Linked DNA regions of Homo sapiens: region 2 is linked to region 1. Evidence: promoter capture Hi-C in 16 types of primary human blood cells and fetal thymus (Javierre and others, 2016). All regions are on one chromosome and are shown on one strand. Each heading gives the region's core, a stretch centred on a gene start or on the middle of the fragment in contact. The rest is flanking DNA. Distances are from core to core; before and after follow the strand shown.

What was found. Contacts are between HindIII fragments. The CHiCAGO score rates a contact against its expected background, and 5 or more counts as called.
Region 2: a contact is called between a fragment that was not itself captured here and the fragment with the promoter of IL1RAP in region 1, in 2 of 17 cell types (non-activated CD4 T cells and naive CD4 T cells). The highest score is 7.8, in non-activated CD4 T cells.

The regions. Positions count from the first base shown.
Region 1 is chr3:190,510,250-190,516,068 of GRCh38, reverse strand. It overlaps IL1RAP (interleukin 1 receptor accessory protein), which reads right to left and starts at 1,984. Exons shown (of 12, transcript NM_002182.4): 1 at 1,850-1,984. RefSeq lists enhancers at 794-1,293, 1,294-1,795, 2,548-2,637 and a silencer at 2,048-2,397. The HindIII fragment of the contact is 8,413 bases long and covers 1-5,819 here.
Region 2 is chr3:187,738,568-187,744,182 of GRCh38, reverse strand. All of the region lies in intron 1 of BCL6 (BCL6 transcription repressor), which reads left to right. BCL6-AS1 (BCL6 antisense RNA 1) reads right to left here and starts at 514. Exons shown (of 2, transcript NR_173091.1): 1 at 139-514. RefSeq lists enhancers at 1,993-2,492, 2,493-2,994, 5,087-5,615 and a silencer at 4,410-4,585. The HindIII fragment of the contact is 1,021 bases long and covers 3,567-4,587 here.

The DNA of each region.
Region 1 (5,819 bases), core at 735-3,234:
CCAGTAGATAGTAGTAAATTATTGCATGAAGTTCATCAGAATAAAATCAATTGTCATGAGAAGGGTTAAGGGTGTGGGAGGGAATCCATTTAACTTTAAAATACCAATAATACAGGAAGACTAGTGTGGGCATGTGAATGTCTGTGTGTTCGTGTTTAAATAAGGCAAGTTTGTGTCCAGAAAGGTTTGCATTTAGCAGCATCTCTGTACAATCCAAAAGAAATATATGAGAATTTTGTTTGTTTTCTGATACTAGATGAAAAATGTAAGGTTGCTCGACTGACCTAAGAGAGCAAGGATAGAAGGCTTAGAATAATCTGTAACACAGCTGCAACTTCCAACTTTGTCTTCTTGTCTTTCTGCCTCTCACCCATTTCAAGACCCTCTTTGTCAATAAAGGATGTCTCAGATCAGGGCAGTTCACAGGCCTGAGGTTTGACCTAAAAACTAGTAGGAAATTCATATCACCGAGAAACATCAATTTTACATTTCGAGCTAAGCATCCATGATCCACATCACATATGGACAACATTCAGAAAATTCTTATTATAAAAGAGTTGCTCAAATTCAAAAGAAGAAAGACACCACATTTACAGATTTTTTTAAAATGCCTCTGTAAGATGGTATGAAATCACCTTTCTGAAAACCCACTGTCTGCAAGGTTACTATGTAACAATATTTACAATAGTTGCCATTGGTTTTGAACCAACCAGATGCCAGGCCAGGCACTGTGCTAAACATGCTACTTGAATGATCCCATTTCATCCTTCCAACTACCCAAAGGGCTCATTGTGACCATTATAAATCTCCATTTTTTGGCTGGAAAAAAAAAAAAGGAAGAAAGAAAGAAAAGAAAAACCCAGTATCGGAAAGGTGAGATAACTTGCCCAAGTTCACACTGCTAATACATGGAAGAGCTGGAGTCAAAACTCAAGTCCTCTTTCTCATCCAGTAGCTAAACCAGGGATCTGTACAGCAGAGCAGCAGAATGCTTCGCGTGGCGCCCTGGTTCACAATTTCACAACCAGAAGGTGGAGGGAAGACAGGCTGTGGGCTAGCTCTTAAAGGAAACAGCCGAAGTTTGCTTTTATGTTTGTGATTTTCTCTTTAACTCAGCTTCCTTGCTCCCTCTCAGTATTTAGAAGAGGGAAGGGGCTCTATGGTTCCATGAAGTCAGCTCTTCCCAAGTGAGGGGCACCCTGTGCCCCACAGGGCCACTAGCTCCGCTTCCTCCGGGGCTGGGAAGAAACAGTACCATAGGAGGTCACTGGCGCCCGGGCCTCGCTCCTCTCTCCCCGCGCTCCTCCAGAAGCTGGTCCGACACCCTCTGAAGGGGCATCTTTCTGAGAAAGCAGGTCAGGGGAAGAGGGAGTGAGGCTGCAAGCAGCATTTTCCCAGGCTGTCACAGCTCTGCGCTGAGAGCGACGTGATACCGAGTGGGCGTGCTGGGACACACCGCTTCCTTCTGTCCTCGGCGCTTCCAGCAGCGGTCTGGAGAAACCAAGGAGGAGATGGGGGCGGGGGGTGGTAGCGGGGAGGGGGCGGTGAGGAGGAAAACAAGGGTAGACCCCTCAAAGGGCTGAGGATGGGGGCGGCAACGAGCAGACGTCCCACAACCGCGTTACTTAAATCCCTGCAAAGCAAAGATGGGTCTCTGAACGTTTGGGTTCGAATCCGGGCTCCAGTCCTAACTAGCAGTATGACCTATCCCAGCCGCTGCCTCGTTCTGTGCCTCAGTTTCCTCTTCTGTAAAGTAGGAGGGTTTAACGATAGGATCTCTAAGAATCCGTCTACCCTGAGATTCTGCGGCTTGGTGACTTCTGAGCCCTCACGGCGGCGCGAGACTCACCTTTCTTGGGAAGCTGAGAGGGCGCAGCAAAAGCAGCCGGGATGGGTGCAGTGTCGCCGGGCACTGCTTCCTTCCGCGCCTCTGGCCAAAGCGGACCCCGGAGACCTGGATCCCGGCAGTCTTCCCCAGTGAGCCTCTTACTTTCCGCCGCACTTTCTTTTCCCCCTTTGGGGCTCCTCCCCCGGAGCGGCGCGATTGGCCACGGCCTCACGGCTCAGGCTCCACCCGCCGCCTTGGCTCGCGATCCACCGGCGCTCTGGGCTTCCAGGAGCTGCGGCCGCGGGGCGGCGTCCTGGACGGTCCCGCCCGCCGCCAGGAGGCGCGGCGCCGGGCCCGCCTGCGGACGGATGCAAGGCTGCGCTCGGCCCCTTCGGCTCCCTGCCACCGCCTGTGCGGGCTTGAGCGCGCGGGGAAAGGAGAGGGTTAGTCCTGCAGCGCAGCTCGGCACGCTGCCAGGCGCTGTGGGAAGCTACGCCCCTCACTACACACCGAGGCGCACACATGCGCTCATTGCAAGATCGTGCTCTCGCAGTTGAGATCGGTGCCACCCTGCCCTTTCTTCCTGTCTCGACGTATTTAGCAATCATGCTGCAAGGCCTTGAATCAATTCAGACTGCACGATTTTCGCAACCACCCTGTGCCGGCACAGAGCGCGGCAGGATGTAGATGCGATCTCCGCAGTCCTGAGCTCTTGCTGTCTTGAACTGACATTCATATGAGCAAGCAACAGGACATGACAGCAAGACTAAATCTGTATTGTCCACTGGTAATATACCCATTGCCTAGCACAGTGCCTGGCACAAAGTAGGCACTCAATACATGTATGGGGAACGAATAAAAGAACTAATAGGTTACATAGAAGGAAATAATCTCAAAACAAATATTTGCCTTCATTCATTTCCATTTCCCCAAGTTTTTGCAAGAGCCTTCCTTCAGCTGCCCTCTGCCACTGTAGATGGTAGTCTGTAATATATCCCGGGAAGCGTTATAAAGGCTTTCATTAAGTCATCTCTCTTGTTCAGGCACCTTCTGCTGTGTTCCTACTGCTAGTGCCTCATGATTTTTCCTGACTGGCAAGGCCCTTCATGACCTGTCCCCATTTCTGAAACCCCCTAACCAAAGCCACCTACCAGACTGACGAGTCTTCGCACATCTTCTTGCTCATCACATCTTCTTTTCTCCTCCTCCTACCTAACTGAATCCTACTAATTTATTTTCAAGAATCAAGATTCAGAGAAAGCATTTAAGGAAAAGGAGAAAAAAGATGTGAAATAAGAAAAGGGCCCAGGTGAGTGGGAAGGAAATGAAACCAGCAGGTGCCCGTGCTGCTAAAGGTGCACAGCAGTACGAAACTCAGAGGCTGCCCCTGCCCTGGCGGAGCTTCAGTTCCTAAGGTGAAATATCAGTGTAATTGGAGCCATAGAAATGTTCATGATACTTTACTTCTTGACATCACTTATGAAAATTAATTGCTCAAAATTTTTATTTATCTCAGGATACCTGGGACCCAGCACCTGCTCACAACATTGTCACTGAACCAAAGAGAAAATAATCCAAAAGAATTTAAAATGTTACCTGTATGAAGCAACAATAAAACATTTTCTGATTTATTATTCATTCCTTAAATATATTCTGGGCACAGACTTTTATATATATATAGTACACTGAAGCATTTACACAGTGCTTACAAAATAAAAAGGTGCAATCATAAGGACTTTGTGTATATTAATTCAGGTAACCCTCAATACAACCTGGAGGGTGCTATTATTATCTCCAGTTCATAAAGGAGATAAAGGGAATTTAAATAACTTGACCAAGGCTACAGGCCTACAAGTGGAGAATACAAAATGAGACTAGAGACACTCGACGTTCATGCTCTCAGCCGCTACTCAGTCTCATGTACTACCTAGAAGCCAAACAGATGCTAGTAATTCAGAATTGAACCAGATGTATATTCCCGGACATTGAAGGGCTACTCATAGCTTAAGGAAGATAACATTAAGATGAATAATCATATAGACAAATATTCATAGTATATTGTAGTTTGAACACAATATAAATGGTTGGAAATGAAAATGATTAGTTAACCAACGCTGTCTACGCACAGAATAAAATATTTGCATCATAACTATCATATTATGGAAATATGTCTACAAAGAAAAAGGCTTACAAAATAAGGTTGAGTAAAAGTTGTGGAGAGATGAACACCAATTGAAAGGAATGTGAAAAAATGTTGATATGTTAGGATTACAGAAATAGAAACATCTCTTTTTCCTTTTACATTTAAGTGAAATAAACCAAGCACAGAAAGACAAATTTTGCAAATTCTCACTCACACGTGGGAGCTAAAAATTAAACAAAGGAACTGAGATATGAGAGTAGAATGATGGTTACCAGAGGCTGGGAAGAGTAGCAGAGGCAAGGGAGTTGTGGGGAAGGGAGGATGGTTAACGGTTGCAAAAATATAATTAGCTGGAATGTATAAGACCCAGCACTTGATAGCACAACAGAGTGACTACAGTCAACAATAATTAATTATGCATTTTAAAATAAGTAAGAGTGAAATTGGAATGTTCCTCAAAGAAGTGACAAATGGTCAAGGTGATGACACCCTGTTGTCATTACCCTGATGTGATTATTACACATTGTATGCATGTATCAAAACATCACATGTCACCCATACATATATACACCTATTATGTACCCGTAATAATTAAAAATGAAAAAATGTTATGCTAACAATTGAGAAAAATATTTTAAAGCTATACCCATTAAATATCCATCACATACTAAACATTTGATGAATAATAGTTGCCTAAATGAATAAATGAAGCTACAAATTCATTGATGTCAGTGACTAATACTGCTGGATGTATAGAAGATGCACAATAAAATATTTTGCAATTGATTGATGTATTTGGAAAGGTATTATTATTCTCTTCTTCTCCCAGCTTTTACCCTCCACCTTTTTTTTAGGTTATCTTTAATTATCTTGCTGTAGCTGTAAGACGCATCAGGAGTTTGCTAGTCTCTTGAACCCAATCCATTCAGACATTTATCTCTACCACTCCACAGTCAGCATCTGTAATGATCTTCACTTTGCCAAATGTGGTGATCAATTCTCTGTCTTCATTGTACATGTATCAGCAGCATTAGACACAGATAATCTGTTGCTCTTTCACACTCTCTCGTACTTGACTCTTTGTTTTTCATGTATTTCATCTGCTGTTCCTTATCAGATTCTTATTGAATCCTCTACCTCTTCATGATCTCTGAAGGTTCCAGTGTCCTAGAGCTCAATCCTTGAAGTGGTTATATTCTCTACCTAGGGGAACTCAGACAGACACATGGCCTTCTAAAATATCAATATGATAATAACTTGCAAATCTAAATCTAAAGCCCAAACCAGACTTTGTATACCATATTACCTCCTTCATATCTCCTTCTTGGATGTTTTAAATACATCTCAAACTTTACATGTTCAAATTCAAACTTTATTTCTGCCCCACACCAAACCAGAGCTTTGTAAGCAACACTGTCTTTTACCCAGTTGCTCAGGTCAAAAAGTTGGAGTTATCACTCTCTCTCATTGCCTGTACACATTATATCCACAAACCTTCTGCTTCCTCTACATTCAAAACACATCTCAAATCCAACCACGCTATTCCTCTTCTCCATCACAACCACCATGGTTCAAGTCATTGCCATCTCTCCCCTCACTGGTGTCCCTGCTTAAACTCTTACCCAAAGAGTCTATTGCCCTTACTTCAGAGACCCTTATAAATGAAAATAGAATAAATACAGGCTAGTGATTGAGGTCAAGGAATCTGAAGCCCGACTACCTGGGATCAAGTTTACATAATGTGGTCAAGTTACTTAATTTCTTTTTTTCACAGTTTTATTCTCTGAAAAATATGAATAACAATGACAATAATATACATTATAGTGCTGTTTTTAAATTAAATGAGAT
Region 2 (5,615 bases), core at 2,828-5,327, 2.8 Mb after region 1:
TCTGTGTTGGCTCCCAATGGCTGTTGCCTCCCTTTCCTAAATTTTATTTTATTTTTTCCCATGGTGCAAGCTCTGTAAAAAGGGAACTGCGGGCCTGAGCGTAGTGGACGCCAGGCTTCAGATTCCCGAGGTCCTTACCTTGGGCGAGGAGAAAGACGAACAGAGCCCCAGCCCGCGTTCCTTATGTGCAAGACTCAGGAGGAGAGAAGGGCACTTTGTGGCCGTGGCTGAGGGGACCCGGCGCGGGAGGAGCGGGCGCGGGCGCGAAAGGGAGATCTTTGTGAGTGATTTTGCAAAAATAGATTGCGAGGTTGGTTGGATTTGCAACCTGTGGCTCTCCTCGAGGGAGTAAGAATGGGGGAAGGCGCGGCGGCGGCGGCCCGGGGAGGGAGTGGGTAGAGTTGGAGCCTCAGAAATCGGCTGAGCTCCGGGGGCGGGCGGGGAGAAAGGGCGGGGGGGCAGCAGGAGCTAGGGGCCACCCCGCTGCCGGATGTAGTGACCGTGGTAAATGTCTTGAGAACTGTGGGTTGCGTTGCCTTTATGATGCCGTGTTATTGGAACCCTGGCGAAAAATGGAACTAGTGTTGCAATAATGAGTTTTAAAGCTCCCCCATGGAAAACAAAAACACAACCAAACCGATTTTTTAAAAAAATGAAAAAAGACCCTCTGTGTTGTGTTCCCTTCTACGATGGTTGTGTTGGTGGCTGGGGTTTGGGGGTGGGGGGTCCTGACAGTTGAGCAGATAAATGACCCCAAACCAGGTGCTGAAAGTCCCAAGCTGTCACAGGGCCCCTGACCACCTCAGAGAGCCAATCTCCACTCCGCGCCCCCTCCCCGCCGGCCCCCGCCACCCCACAACCCGCCAGGATTTAATCTTTTATGGATTTTTTTTTCAGTTTATAGTTTCCAGGAGGAAAGTCTTGTAACGCTTTACTTTTTCTCTTCTTTTTTTAAAGTAAAGTGAGTGTCAGTAGATGTGTTTTTTACAGTCTGGATTTTAAAAAAAGTGGGGCAGGAGAGAGGGAACCAGGGAAAGGGCTGTTTAGAAATACAGTTTGTGGCTCTGAGCGATGCCACCGGCTTCCTCTACAGAGACTGCCAGTTTCCCTTTTTCTTTGCAAGGTGTGTGTGGTTTTAATAAATAACTTAAAAAAAAAAAGAGGGGGCGGCAAGATCCATCAGGAGACAGGTATCTATTTTGCTCACTATTTACTACCAAGAGCCTTTGGCACTAGAACAGAACCTCGTAAATCTGCAGCCCAAGTTGAAGTTCATCTGGCCCTAGTCCACACGCTATTCCTGGAGGTAGCAAACATGAGCTCAAAGAAGAGAGATGAAATCACATTCTTGCTTTAAAATATATACTTTTTTAAAAAAGACGAAAAGATATTTGTCTCTGGGGGAGGAGGAAATGGCGAACAAGTACCAGGAGATGGGCATTCCCTTACTCTAATGACTGCAGTTGAGTCTTCAGGCCAAAATAGAAACCTGTAGATGGCAACTCTCTCTCCACCTCCCCGCCCCGCCCGCCACCCCAAGCTTATAAATAGAAGTTTCCAGTATCCTATTTGGAAGACTTTCCAATACTAGAGGCCGAAGCATTGGCTAGTTTTAAGGGTTGTTGATAGTGACAGTAAGGCTAGATGCTGTTCATAAAAACTGGGCGACTTGAAGGAGACAGCCAGAAAAAGTGGGAATTCTCCAATTGCCCCTTTCTTCTTTTCAGTTTTGAAGGGTTTTATACCAATGCTTTCTTGAAAAGACTAACTTATTCTGGGTTTGGTGGATAGGGATGGGACTCTAAATGCTTAAGTTGTCGTTTGCTGAGCCCTTGAAGAGTTCCAGTTATTGGTTGAGTAAATGGTAGCCACGGCTAGATGTCAAAACCCTTCCTTCCCTCTATCCCCTACAGGGTAATGACACTCACAACCCACTTTGTTGTGAAAAACTTAAGAGATATAGAGGAGGCGGTGCAGCAGCGCCACCCCTCGGTGGGTGAAACTATTGGCAAAAGTCAATTTTTGAAAAATATTGGGAAGTGAACTTATGAAACATTTTTCCCCCAGAGATTTAAAAAAAATAGGGGAGATAAAACTAACGGATAAAAAGGACTTTGAAGTTTATCAAGTAGGGAAGAAAAATGTTGCTTTCCAACTAGGATGGTGTTATAATAGGCAACGTGGTTCTAAGGTTTTTTTTTTTGGTGGGGGGAGGGTGCCTGGTTGATTTTAAGTAGAAGAGTTCTCCAGGCGGAGGTAGCCCGGCCTTCCCCTTGGATTGACTTCTCAGGGCATCTTAATTCTGCTGCCTGTCTGATACCGAGATAGTGAGGGATGTTTTGGTGTAAAACACCATAGTGGCTGGAAATGCTGTAGTTTTGCCGGCGGTGGCAGGACGTATGTGTAGGGGGTGTGTTGAGGAGGTTTGTGGATGGCGTGGAGCAATGGTAGGCTGGTCTGTAGCCCTCTGTGAATCAACATCGAATGGCGCGTGCCGGTTTCCAGCACTGCGCAACAAGTGGGACCGCCGCTGCCGCCGCGAGCACAGCGAGGGTGCAGCGTGGTGGCAGAACTGGCTGGTTTCTCTTTGCCCCAGTGGAAACCAGGAACGGCCCCTCCCAACCCTCCCGATGTCCACTCCGAGACCCACAACTTCACCAAAAGACCATACCCGACTCCCCACTCCCCCGCTTTGCCAGGCGCAGTGAGCCTGAGTGGGATCCAGCACTCGGCCCCCAGCGCCCCTTTCCTCCGAGAAGATCAGGAGTTTATTCCCGACTTTCTTTGCTGGATGACCAGTGTTTGGCAAGAATCTCTGCCAATACTGTCGAGTGCCATTCTGCCTTTTGAAGACAAGTGCACCTTCTTTCCCTTCCCAGTACATAAAGCTTTTCGGAGGCTGGGGGAGAAATCAACTTATGATACATGAAACCAGCTCCAGATACCGCGTTGTGGTTGCTAGAGGCGGGAGCATCGGGAGGAACGGAATTACATACACTAAATTAAATGTTTTCTAGCTTTGCTTTTAGAGGCAATCACACCCCCAACCCTCGCCCCCACCAGACAGAAAATAAAGAGGGGCGGGTAGGGATCGGTGTGGAAGCTGCGGCCGCGCGGCGATTCTCGGACGGGCTGGCCTGCCACCTAGCGGTGGGCTGAGATCGAGTTCGCGGCCATGGGCGGTGGGCTCGCCGTTCCACCTCCCGGGCGGCGGTACCCTGACCAGATGCTAGGACTGACAGAAGGAGGGCACCCTCCAATGGGGATGGCATACAACCTCCAAAGTTTTGGCAAGAGGGATGAAAATCAGAAAGGCCTCGCTGCTTGCCCATCACTCAGCGATGAGCATCTATTTGCACTAAGAAAAACCACAAATAACCCGCTTCGAACACACCATCTTCCTGTCCCTGTGGCCCCTCTTAGGGGAAGTCGGTAGTGGAAGGATGCCACCTAGGAGCTCAGGGGCTTTGGGACGTACAACTCTGTTTTGCAGTTGAGGAAACAGGCCCGACGAGGAGGCTTGTTAGTGGTGAGTTAGTGACTTAACCAGGACCAGATTTTAAGCTTCTGAATTTCATGTCAGTGACTGAAAGCCAAAGGCGGGTTTATCTCAGCTCCTTAGAAGTATTTATGAGAAAGGAGCGGCTGCCAGAACCATGAGTTTAACCTCTTAGGTCACCTTTGTTGCCAGTGTTCATTGGAAACCGCTCCCCAGCAGTCTTGGAGGATTTTTTTTAAAGAAAATATGGCCTAAGATTTTCGGTAATGACACGAAAAGCCCAGATGGTGCTGAAGGGTGTGGGTCTCGGAGCTCGGGGGTTTGCGTGTTAAGAGGGGGGTTAAGGCCTGGACCAAAGACTTGCAGGGCGAGCCTCGATTCTGAAATCGCTCTCTTCCCCTTCCTAACATCCTCTGCATAGTAGCCTGGCGAGAAACCGGGTGTGTGTGTGTGAGGGGGTGGGGGTCATGTGGATAGGCCAGAATTTGTGCCACAACAGTTCCTCCGTAAAGTTTTCTTTCTCCGAGCTCGTGACTTAAGATGGCAAACGCGCGTCCGCATGCTGGCGGCCCCTAGCGGCAGCAGGCGCGCTCTGCAGGGGGAGACAGCGCCGTCGCCCCCGCCCGGGTCGGCGGGGATCGAGTTCGGCCCCTCCCACTGCGGGAGCCGTCGGAGGCCGCGTCGGAGAAACGCGCCTCTGTTCGGACTGGAAACGAATCTGGGAACGAGTTTGAAGCGCGGTCAAGTTTGACTCATCGCTTTCCAAGGACAGTTAGTGCCTTCCATCTTCATTAACGTGAATAAGGACCTTGGCTGACTTCTTTCCAGATCGGATTTTTAAAGGCATTGTTTGCTTGAGGAGATCATGCTTCTCCCCTCCCCCGCCAGCCTTTTTGCAAAGGCTGAGCCCAGTCCAGCCAGGACGGCCGAGGGATCTCTGCTCCGGGACGCGATTTGCTGGCATTGTCTTCGGGCCCTTCTGGAAGGCTGTCTCGCGCTGAGCGTATGGGGAACGTCCCTTCTGCAACTCCTCTTCAGATCTTGATGATAAAACACATCCCTCTGTTTTATTGCATTTCCTAGAAGCTTGCAGGCTTGCAAGAGCACTGTTGGCAGGAAACGTGATAGAAATGAAAGTCAGGACACAATGTCCCCGAACACCTCGGTTATCCAAAGCGGCTGTCGAGGCCATCGCGTTATCAAATTCGCTTTTATTTACTGTCGTCTCCTGCACCCTCCCGTTCCCCAGCCAAGAGGGCGAAGAGTGTTTTCCCCCAAGAATAAAAACAGCTCCGCGATTTGACCTCACCCCCTGCCGCCGGACCACGGTGGTGTCTGCAGCCGTGCAGCTAGTTGGCTGAAACACTGCTGAGACCGGGAGCCCCACGGCAGGGCCCCTGATGCGGGGTTCACTACGGCAGTTGCAGCCTTATTAAAATTCCTTGTCCTTGTCCCTAAACAGTGCTTTACACTTTCAGATTTCCCTTTGGATTTTTCAGCGGGTTATTGGAGTTATTAGATTACCAATAATCCAACAGCCTCTGTAGCCTCTCTGGCTGGAGAGGAGGGGGGAAGGGCGGAAGGCATTCTCCAAATCGGGAGGCTCTGGCCAAACTAGGTCAATGGGAAGGAGGGGAGGGGCGAGAAAGGGGTTGACGGTTTCAAACCTTGATGGAGGGCTCTCTCTAGCGTTAGGCAGCGGTAAAAACACCATTCGGTTTGAGCTCCCGGAACCACGGGACTCCTAATTTCCAATAAATGCACTTACTTCATTTTAACTTCCCAGATTCTCATCCCTACCCCTTATTAAATCCCAACCGTCTCTTTCACCTTTATCCCACCGGGCGAAGGGGTGAGAAAGCCTCAATGTAGGATTTTGAGGCCAAAGGCTCGTTCTTTGCAGACCGACTCTGACCCTTCCGCTTGCCGCAGAAGGGATGAGCGGCGCAGTGTGACGCCACTGGCTAGTTTTAGGACCAGACTGCGGCCTTTGTGGCTGAGTCTTTCGCTGTCCCCTAGCCCCCGAAAGCGCACCCCGGAGCCTGCTACCGAGACCAATTAGGACATGGCACCCGGGGGTTATAATTCCCGGGAGGGCCACAGGAAGGCGAGGCAA